Regions from separate parts of the Homo sapiens genome. Here region 1 is linked to region 2. The links are contacts of gene promoters, found by promoter capture Hi-C in blood cells and fetal thymus (Javierre and others, 2016). All regions are on one chromosome and are shown on one strand. The core of a region is centred on a gene start or on the middle of the fragment in contact, and the rest is flanking DNA. Distances in the headings are between cores, read along the strand shown.

Evidence for each region. Contacts are between HindIII fragments. The CHiCAGO score rates a contact against its expected background, and 5 or more counts as called.
Region 1: a contact is called between a fragment that was not itself captured here and the fragment with the promoter of MARCHF7 in region 2, in 1 of 17 cell types (megakaryocytes). The highest score is 6.0, in megakaryocytes.

Annotation. Positions count from the first base shown.
Region 1 is chr2:159,189,050-159,194,604 of GRCh38, reverse strand. It overlaps TANC1 (tetratricopeptide repeat, ankyrin repeat and coiled-coil containing 1), which reads right to left. Exons shown (of 27, transcript NM_033394.3): 17 at 112-348. Among named protein-coding and RNA genes, the nearest start is that of MIR6888, 5.0 kb to the right of the region's middle. The HindIII fragment of the contact is 482 bases long and covers 2,511-2,992 here.
Region 2 is chr2:159,708,348-159,714,097 of GRCh38, reverse strand. It overlaps MARCHF7 (membrane associated ring-CH-type finger 7), which reads right to left and starts at 1,592. Exons shown (of 12, transcript NM_001282805.2): 1 at 1,492-1,592. It also overlaps a transcript of BAZ2B not described here. RefSeq lists silencers at 994-1,113, 1,634-2,143 and enhancers at 1,304-1,583, 1,351-2,017. The HindIII fragment of the contact is 3,093 bases long and covers 1,307-4,399 here.

The DNA of each region.
Region 1 (5,555 bases), core at 1,502-4,001, 520 kb after region 2:
TGTATGCTGTGGTTTCAGAGACAAGAGAGTCTGGCCCAGCAAATAACAATTCTAGCAATGAGATGAAGCCATTTCCCTGCCCCAGCCCCAAAAGAGCAGGCTGCCGCTTACTCTCACTCCCTTCTTGGTCAGCAGACACACCAGCTTCATGTGGCCAGCAGCTGCTGCGTAACAGAGGGCAGTCATGCCGTTCTCTGACGTTCCGTCCAGGCAGGCACCAAATTCCAGGAGCAGAGTGACAACTTCCTCGTGGCCAAGGTGAGACTGGACGCACAGGATTGGGGCATTATTTAACACTTCTGTCCTGTAGTTCACGTTGGCCCCTCCCAAAATCAGGAGACGGCTCACCTGTTGGACAAGGCCCCCCAACAAGATTGTCACATGTATGTCATCTAAACATTTCTGGAAATGGGCAGTATCCTCAATTTTCGGTATCATTTTAATCCAGTGGTTCTCAAACTTGAATGTGCACCAGTATCACCTGGGAATATATTAACAATGCACATTCTCATTGGTGGGAATGTAAAATAGTGTAGCTTACTGGGAAACAGTAAGATGGTTCCTCAAAATATTAAAAATAGAACTACTGCCCCAGGCACGTGACTGTAATCCCAGCTACTCAGGAAGCTGAGGTGGGAGGATTGCTTGGGGCCAGGAGTTTGAGGCTGTAGTGCACTATGATCATGCCTGTGAACAGCCTGCTGCACTCTAGCCTGGGCAACACAGCAAGGCCCTGATGTGAAAATTAAAAAAAAAAAAATTTTTAATTAAAAATGTCAGTAGAGGCCAGGTGCGGTGGCTCACGCCTGTAATTCCAGCACTTTGAGAGGCCATGGCGGGTGGATCACGAGGTCAAGAGATCGAGACCATCTGGCCAACATGGTGAAACCCCGTCTCTACTAAAAATACAAAAATTAGCTGGGCGTGGTGGTGTGTGCCTGTATCTCAGCTACTTGGGAGGCTGAGGCAGGAGAATCGCTTGAACCCGGGAGGTGGAGGTTGCAGTGAGCTGAGATTGCACCACTGCACTCCAGCCTGGCGACAGAGTGAGACTCAGTCTCAAAAACAAAAACAAAACAACAAAAAATAACAATAGAACGGCCATGTGATCAGTCATCCCACTTCTGGGTACATATTCAAAAGAATTGAAAGCAGGATCTCAAAGACATATTTGTACCCTCATGTTAATTGCAGCATTATTCACAACAGCCAACAGGTAGATGCAACCTCAGTGTTCATCAGTGGATGGATGAAGAAAATGTGGTACATATACATACAATGGATTATTCCTGCTTAAAAAGGGAGAAAATCCTGCCATATGTGACAACATGGGTAAACCTCGGGGAAGTGAAATAAGTGAAGCAAGCCAGACGCAAAAGAACAAATACTGAGTGAAACTACTTATGAGATATATACAGTAATCAAATTCACAGACAGTAGAATGAAGGTTTCTGGGCCTGGGCACAGGGGAAATGAGAGTTGTTGCTTAAGGGATATAGAGTTTTGATTCTGCAACATGAAAAGTACTGGACATCTATCGCACAACAATGTGAATATTGTTAACACTACTGAATTGCAGACTTAAAAATGGTTAAGATGGTAAATTTCCTTTTATGTGTTTCTTAACCATAATTAAAAATAAAAACTAAACAAATAGCCAGGCAAGGTGGCTCATGCCTGTAATCCCACCACTTTGGGAGGCTGAGGCGGGCGGATCACCTGCAGTTAGGAGTTCGAGACCAGCCTGAAGAACAGGGTGAAAACCCCGTGTCTACTAAAAATACAAAAATTAGCCAGCGTGGTGGCGCACGCCTGTAATCCCAGCCACTCAGGAGACTGATGCAGGAGAATCGCTTGAACGCAGGAGGTGGAGGCTGCAATGAGCCAAGATTACGTCACTGCACTCCAGCCTGGGGGACAGAGCAAGACTCCGTCTCAAAAGCAAAACAAAAACAAAAACAAAAAAAACCTAAACAACTGCAAATTCTTGGGCCCCACCCCCTGATTTCTGATTCATTATATCTGGGTGGTACATTTTTAATAAGTTCCTCGTTGATATTGACACTCTTGGTTTGGGGAACCACACTTTGAAAAATCACTGTTTAACCTCAACAAAACCAGGAAATTCATTTTCCTGGTAATGAAGTAATAATTGTGGCTGGGTGCAGTGGCTCACAACTGTAATCCCAGTATGTTAGGAGGCTGAGGAGGGAGGACTGCTTGAGCCCAGGAGTTTGAGACCAACATGGGCAACATGGCAAGACCCCGTCTCTATAAAAAATGTTTTTAAAAAGAAAAAAATAGTCATGGTGTTAATAGTGAGATAAGGCCAAAAGTAAATACAAATACTTTATAGGGATGTGTTCCTAAAAGAAACAGAAAATATGGAAATGTCCACATGTGCCATGATTGTCCGCAGCATAATACTGCTAGAAAATAATGTGCTGCTTCCACTAATTACTATATCCCCCACTTAGTAATCTCCCTGGATCTAGGTATTGGGAAAAGCTTTTTATCTACAGGTTTTAAAATAAAATTACTGAACATACGCAAATTTTAGGTATAATAATATTTTTTTTTTCAGATCTTCAGATCATTAGATACAAATGATGCTCCTTTAACAGCTATTAAGATGCCCAGTGTGTTTCTTTCAATGGCTTACTTCAATGGTCCTGACCCACATCAATCACTGCCCCTGCCAAAGCCTGGCAGGTCCTCCACCTGCCCACTAAATGTGAAAACCACAGAGACTATCATTTATTGACTAGAGACACATGGGGATCATTAAAAGATACAGAGAGATGACAAGGCATAAAAACTTCATGGTATTTCAGTGATAGATGTCCACAAGAGTAGCTGACAAACAGAATATTTACAAACAAATGGGTCTGGAAAATTATACTACCAAGTAGTGAAACCATAACTCACAATGGCATAGTGACAGGTTAGAACCCCAGGTGTCAAATTTGAAGATGTCTTGGCTGCTGAAGCTTGAACCTCTGTGATACAGGCCTCCAGCTTCCTCTCTGATCTTCTCTGCAGAATCCTTCCCTCACTGCAGCCACCTTGGACCCAACACGTGCTGTGACAATGCCAAGCAGGGCCGGCCTCATGGTCTTTACCCCCTTTTAGTTCCCTGACTGGAATGCTCATTCCATAAATATAATCACTTCCTGCAGGGCTCTGCTCCAGTGCCAGGACATGGGGGAGAGGGTACCCTGTGCACCCAGGCCCTCTCTATCCCTCAGCATGCTCTGTTTTCCTGCTTAGTCCACTGCACCAGACACTGGTTCTACGATACAGAAGTTCACAGAGAAGAAAGGCAAACAGAGCCCCTCCATGGATGGGGATGACCCACACATCAGTTTCTTCACACTGCTGGGACTGCCATCTACATTTAAGGAAGAACAGGCCATGTGCAAGTGACAAGGAGCCAGCCAACCACCTGACCACCACCCCGCTGTCTACACCATCAGAGAGACCACTGTCTAGCCAGATCCAGGTGAACACCAACCCAGCCTCTAGGGTCTCGCTGTCAACTTGTACTTGTGGAGGAATGGATGAGAGATCAGAAAGGGTGTCCAGTCCTAACACTGCTGTTTCATGGGCAACTTCAGGCAAATGACTTAATTAATCCCCACCAAGCCTGCTCTACAGATCTATATAGGCTTGCTTTTTAAAAATGCCACCAGACTCTGATCTAATTCAAAAGCATTTTAAGACTGCATTATGCTACAACATTAATAAAGGTGTGGCTGGGCATGGTGGCTCACGCCTGTAATCCCAACACTTTGGGAGGCCGAGGTGGGTGGATCACCTGAGGTCAGGAGTTTGAGACCAGCCTGGCCAATATGGTGAAACTGAGTCTCTACTAAAAATACAAAAATTAGCTGGTTGCGGTGGCACACGCCTGTAATCCCGGCTACTCGGGAGGCTGAGGCAGGAGAATCACTTGAACCCAGGAGGCGGAGGTTGCAGTGAGCCAAGATCACGCCATTGCACTCCAGCCTGGGCAACAAGAGCAAAACTCCATCTCAAAATAATAATAATAAATAAAAATAAAAATAAAATAATAAAAGTGTTTTAAAAATCCCTTTGAGTAACAGCGTGGACAGAATCAGATTATGCTGAAGAAATAGGATTTTATTAAGGCCAATGAAACCAGTCCTCAGCAAGAGGAGTAGAGAAGATACACATCTGGAAATACACGCAATGCCACCAAGGGGCACACCAGACTCTGCTAGCCACAGGATGGGCAGGATCATTTGTAAATTCCCTGGATAATTTTGCCAGCCAGTTACATTCTGTCCTCCCCCATCAACCCCATACCTTCTTGAGATCCATGGGCCTAAAAAATGAAGGATTAAGTGGTGTGAGTTCTCAGCCAGCCCCCAAACTAACCTACTGTGTGATTTTCAGAAAATTCCTCAACCTCTCTGTGCTTTAGGTGCCACCTAAGAAAACAGCAGCATGCCATCCCATTCTATCTAACAGGTACTCTTTTGCTAATAATGGTGGAAGGTATACTTGGAGTACCATGATGAATCCCTTACAAGAGTTTACCTGGAAGGCATGTGCTCAGGGCAGAGGTTTCCTAAAGATGTCATCAATTCACACTTCCTCTGCTTCTGGGAATAACATTTTCCTTTGTCGGTGTAATGCTGTACGTATTTTTACCACTTAACCCTCCATCACCTTCCCCTAAACTATGGTTCTTAACCTTGATGCACACTGAAACCACCTGGGAGCTTGAAAGTTTCCAATACCCTGGCCCCACTCTTGGAGATTCTGACTTAACTGGGGCTGGGGCTGTGGTGCCCAGAGCTCCCAGGTGATTTTAGCTGGCAGCCAGGGCTGTAAACACATCAAGTGATAAAGGCACCTGCAGAGCAAGGGCTTGCTGAGTGTCAGGCGCCCTTCCAGCTGTGTGATTTTGGAAAGTATCAACTGCCCTAAACCTCAGTTTTCTCATCTAAAAAAATGAGGATAAAAGTTTCACTTCACTTGGTGGTTGTAAAGATTAAAAATCAATGTGTAAAAAAAAAAGTGTATGTATATATATGTGCATTAAGCATTTAGCACAGCACTCAGCATCTGTACATGTTAAATAAACATTAATCGATGTTATAATCAACCTTTCATGGAGTCTTCAGAAACGACAAGAACTCAGGTCCCTGACCTCTGGAAGGCACAGGAGGGAGCTCTGCCCTCCTGTCCACATCACCCTGCATGCCCAGCCTGGGCTGTTCACCAGCACAGAGCAGCAGGGACACCTCATGCCGAGATGAGGGCAGAGGTAAGTCACCTGCAACCATCACATCCTCAAGGTCGGCAGCTCCTGTTAACAAGCACCAACTGGCACATCCAAAACTTCCCAGGTGCCTACAGCAGAGCCACTGTTTCCAGAGATGAGGCAAAGCACTAACAACAATTCATGTAAACATAATAAATGCCAAGTATGTTCCCAGTACCTTTAACATCTCAGTAAGGTTTCTCATCACTTGAGAGACAGCCTCTTTTGTGTCTCCACTTTATAGGTGAGAAAGCCAAGGCTC
Region 2 (5,750 bases), core at 343-2,842:
CTTTTGTGTCCAAGTTCGTTACCTGACACCTTCATGTAGAACATAACCTGGGCATCCTCGTGCTTTATCTGGGAAAATAGCCCTCTTCCAGGTGGCAGAAAAAAGAAATCATTTGTACTTGAATAAGTAGGAATTCTTAATTCAAGACACCTGACCCAGCACTAAACTTGGAAAAAAACCAAGACTAGTATTATGTCCCCTAGTGACTGCTTCACACACCACCTCAGCAAATTTAATCCTCTCTAGAAATTAACTGCCATGTTTCTGAGACAATCTCGTGAACTTAAATAACTATGGCAAAAATCAAGACTCAAACCCAGGTCTTCTGAGTCTGGTGCTACTGCCTCATGCACCAGTCCTGTCTCCCAAAATGCTGTAGAGCTGTTAAATAAAAATATTATACTGACCTCATTTCTCAAACAAACTTTTTGCTACCTCAAGTAAAAGATCTAGTTACACTACATGTGTGCCTTCTTAATAACTGTATACTATTGGATTTTTAAATCGAAAATTCATCTTTAATCCTACATCTTGGTTCTGGACAGAAAGGTGGAGATTTAAAATAACATGTAATCAGAAAAATAGCTAATCAATCCTACAAAATGGGGGAGAAAACCTCGCCAAATTTCAGTTTTCACACATTTAACTAATAGTAACAAACAACATTAGTCGTGACGAATTTATTACCCAGATAGACTTTCCCAATATATTTACTTTGGTACTTGAGAAAAAGTATTAAGTGCAGCATTTTGGGGTGAGGGGGTGGACACACATCTTCAATACGCAGTTTCACCAAAATGAGGGAGTTTCCTACTCCCGGCGCCTTCTATATTTTTACTTCTTAGGCCAACAGGTCCATTTTTAATACAATCACCTACTTCGAGTTGCAGAACCCACAATTCACCACAACACAAAAATAACTCTCAGGGCGTCACGATATTCAAAAACTGACGTTACCAATAAGACAATCTTGGCCGAATCTAAGGGGCTACCGAAGTCACTTCGACTCGAGGCCGGGCTGGCCGAGCCGGAGCCCTGCCCGCCTTTGCCCCGCGCTCACCGGCGAGCTCACGCGCGACACCCGCGGCCCGCAGGGCTCCGAAGACCCCCCGCCCCACGGCCCAAGAGGAGGCCGCCCCGCGCCAAAGGAGGGCTCAGGCTTCTTCCCGTCACCCGCCACACGTCCCTGAGGAAGACACACAATCTGTCCCCTGCACCCGCCACAAACTCCACCACCCGACCAAAGGCCCCTGGCAAGGGAGGCCTGCGCTGTGGCCCCTTGGCCCCGGTGGCCCCGGACCAAGCTTCTCCACCTCATCCTGAGAGGAAGCGGCCTCCGCGTCCCCAGGCCTCTTCGTTTCCTCCCCTCCCCCACTCGCGGCCTGGTCCCGAACTAGCGCCCAAGACGGAGAAGAACTAGCTCCGCAGCTCATTACCCCGGCTCCTGAGCCGGCACCGACCAGTGCGCGTCCCACTCGCAGCAACACGCACCGCCGCCTTTCTCCTTGGAGTTCTAGGCCCGTGACTGAGGAAATGCAGTCGGCAGCGAAGCACAATGGCGCCCGCCCCTCTCCCGGATCCGGCGCAGAACCAGCCACCACCGTTAAGTGCCCCTCCCTGCTCCTCCTCCCCCCACTTCGCGGACTTCCTGGCTTCTCGCGAGAGTGGCGGCGCGGCGGGGACCGAGAGCTGCGGGCGGGCTGGAGGTACCCCACCGCGGGGTGGTGCTCTGACTGCGGGAACCGTTGAAGAGCTGCCCCCGGGGAGTCAGCGAGGCGCCACTGGTAAGCGGCAGCGGCTGGCTGGCCGGCGTGCCGGCAGCTGGGCTGGCGAGTGTGCGGGCGCCGGGCGCTGGAGGCCCGGGCCGGGGCGGTCCCCGCCCGTCTATAGTCTCTGAGCCAGCCCCTTCCCTCCCGGGCGCCGGGTCCCCGCCCACAGGCCCACCTGCAGGGCCCCGTGCTCGAAATAACGCCCAGCTGGTTGGCTTTTTTTTTTTTTTTTTTTCTTTTTCTGGCTCTTGGTAAGTGGCGCAGTGAATGTTGAATTGAATCAAGCACTGCCTTTTCCGACCTACCCCTCCCCGCTTGCTTCCCTGCCCGCCCTGTGTGATCTAACTGCAAGCCCTTTCCCTTAAGAGTTGGAGCCTGTTTGTCCAACCTTGTGATCATTTCCTTGTGGTAAGAATCTTGGTAAATGATGGTGATCATGTCTTTTAAAATCGTGATAGTAACCTTTAATAGCGTAGCCATCGATTTTGCAGTAAACAAATTCACCTATTTAGAAAGAGGGAGGAAAATTGTGAGGTGAATGGTCTGGTGAATATTAGATGAAACTTTCAAAGAACTGTAAATGTGGCAAACTAAGATGTAAATGAGTACTAATAAATAAAAGGGAGTAGGTTAGGGAAAAGCTACATCTAACTATGTGTAAATATTTAGATGATATGTTGATTTGGAATAATGAATCAAAAGTTTTTTAATGGAAAAGATCAGTTATTGAAACTTGGAAGAATACTGAAAGGCACTTGATTTTTTTTAATGACCTATTTTGTTAAGGTATTAAAAGCAATCCTTTGGATCCAAATAATTCCAATAAATGAAACACAGTGTTTCTACGTGTTTGTCATTACATCGGAAGGGAATGGAGTATCAGTCACTATCATCCTTATTTTATTGTCTTGGGGACTAACAGACTGTACATGTTTCACTATGATAAATTCTAAAATACTATAAATTTTAAAGACTTAAAGGTATTTTAAGTTGGCATGTAAGTGCCAATCTAACTTTTAGGATATGAAATGAAAATAAGCATCTGGTATGGGATAAAGTGAACAGAGATTACTTTTGAGGAAATTAATTTGCCCTTTAAAGAAAAATAATTCTTTTCCAGCCTGTTCGAGTGCCCCTGCAGCATTGTGGTTATAGATACACGGATGTATACACCCTGAAGAACCAGACTATATGGCTTCAAATTCCACCCCTGCCTCTTACTACCTTTGTTATCTCAAGCAATTCCTTAACCTTGCTAAACCTAGGTTTCCTGTAAAACGGGGTTAATAACAGTACCCATGCTCTGTAGCATTGTTTAGATGAGATAACACGTCAGTTCCTGAAACAAGTAAGCATTCCGTAATTGTTAGCTATTACATTCCATGTCTAAACCACCAATAATATTGTTTCTTTCTGTGACTTAATATTACATAGGTCTCTTAGACATCTTCTCAAGATTATGCTAAGAGAAATGACTGCACCCTTTTCCTGAGCTATGGCAGTCAGACCTGGCAGTGGTAACTACTCTACAGAACTCCCAAACCTGGCAAGGATGGTGCAGATTTTGGCAGATTATGGCTTTGTCCCCACCCAGCACTGATGATATTATAAAGTGAGTATGACACCAATTTCCTATGCTAAACAGAGCTTCTAGTTTTTTATTGGTGCTAGTAAATAAAGACCACTGATGAATATGTTTTTATTATTTAAGAATGGTTCGTTGTGTTTCTTTTTAATGTACTCTCTCTGATTTTAGTATTCAGGTAATTATCATGAGTGATAAATAATTATTGAGATTTTGCTATGCTGCAGACATTTTGCAGCCGGGCGCCGTGGCTCATGCCTGTAATCCCAGCACTTTGGGAGGCCAAGGTGGGTGGATCACGAGGTCAGGAGATCGAGACCATCCTGGCTAACACAGTGAAACCCTGTCTCTACTAAAAGTACAAAAAATTAGCCGGGCGTGGTGGCAGGCGCCTGTAGTCCCTGCTACTTGGGAGGCTGAGGCAGAAGAATCACTTGAACCCAGGAGGCAGAAGTTGCAGTGAGCCAAGATCATGCCACTGCACTCCAGCCTGGGCAACAGAGTGAAACTCCATCTCAAAAAAAAAAAAAAGACATTTTGCTAGGAATTATGGATGTGAATAGGTAAAACATGGTCATGGAAAATGACCATAGTTTCTTAACTAAAAATCGTCACAAAGTGATTTGACAGGCAAGTGTTTGAAGTCAAAACTGTTCCAGACAATCTAGACACCGTGCTTGCCTTTTATCCACAGAGTTCCCCCACTTGACCTTCCCTTGCTACTTTTTATCCTTTATGAGTGACTCTGACATACCTTTCTGTATCTAAATATCTTTGTTCACCACTTGCCCTCACCACTCACCTTAGTTTTCATTTTTAAACTTGGCTTCTTCTCTAAGTTAGCATCTTATTGACTATTAACCAATTTTCCCCCTTTTATTTTATAAACTTGTCTGTTATTTACCCATGGTCATTCAACCCTTTACTCTTATGTTTTGAGCATTTCTTCCACCTGATAGCTTAGAATGCTCTTTCAGATATTGAATTTCAAAGTTCTTGTTTTCCCCTCTTTTATTCATCCCACAACCTAATCTTCTAAAAAGCTTCTCTTTGGCAAGGGTAGTTGTAGAGATATCCTTTACTTTGCATAAATGGTGGGACATTGAAAAGATGTGGTTACATTTGCTTTTTGCAAATCATATAATTTTTTATTGATACATAATATTTGTATATATTTATGGGATACATGGGATATTTTGTTACATACATAGAATGTGTAATGATCAAGTCAAGGTATTTAGGATAACCATCATCTAGAACATTTATGACTTCTGTGTGGGTAGTATTTCAAGTCTTCCCTTCTAGCTATTTTGAAATAATGCAATATGATGTTAACTATAGTCATTCTACTCTATTATCAAACATTAGAACTTACTCCTTTTATCCAACTTTATATTTGTACCCATTAACCATCCTCTTTTTGTCCCCACCCCCACCACACACATACTCTTCCCAGCCTCTGATAACTATCATTCTACTGTCTACCTGATTGAGAACAATTTTTTCAGGTGATCTGCCTGCCTCGGCCTCCCAGTGTGCTGGGATTACAGGCGTTAGCCACCGCGCCTGGCCAAGGATCCCTGCTTCTTTTTTTTTTTCTTTTTTTATCCAGCCCAAAATGTCATGAGGACTCCTACTTCTAAGGGATATATTACTTAAAGGTCCATTGTTCTAAGTCTTTGATGTAAGGGATTCCTTTCATAACAAAAATAATAAACTCTCGATTTAGTGCCTTTATAAATTTTTATTTTCCCCACATCAAGTTTTATTTAAAGTTGCCATATTTAGTAAATGAACATCCAAAAAATTCTGTTGGTTGACTTCTACTGGATTAGCATCAAAAACTTTCAATTCCCCAAGCCAGTATTTAAAAGGATATAGAGGCCAGATGTAGTTGCTCAAGCCTATAATCCCAGGACTTTGAGAGGCTGAGTCAGGAGGATGCTTGAGACCAGCGTGGGCAACAAAGCAAGGCCCCATCTATACAAAAAAATTTTAAAAATTAGCCCTGTGCATTGGTGCATGCCTATAATCCCAGCTACTTGGGAGGCTGAGGCAGGAGGATTGCTTGAGCCCAGGAGGTTGAGGCTTGCAGTGAGCGGGGATCATGCCACTGCATTCAGGCCTGGGTGACAGACCCTATCTCAAAATAAATAAATAAAGAAATAAATAAATAAATAAATAAATAAATAAATAAAAGGTTATTAAAACACGTAAAGAGAATACCATCTTGAAACCCTGTCTGAGAAACCTCTCTTACATCTAAGCTTACAGGCTAGATCTCACTGCTTCTAGAAAGATCATTCCTGCTTTTAGTTGCTCTAGAATATCTGGCCTCACCAGGAATAATCCCCAATTTGTGGAACACTTGGAATTCAAACCTTGCACACTGCCTG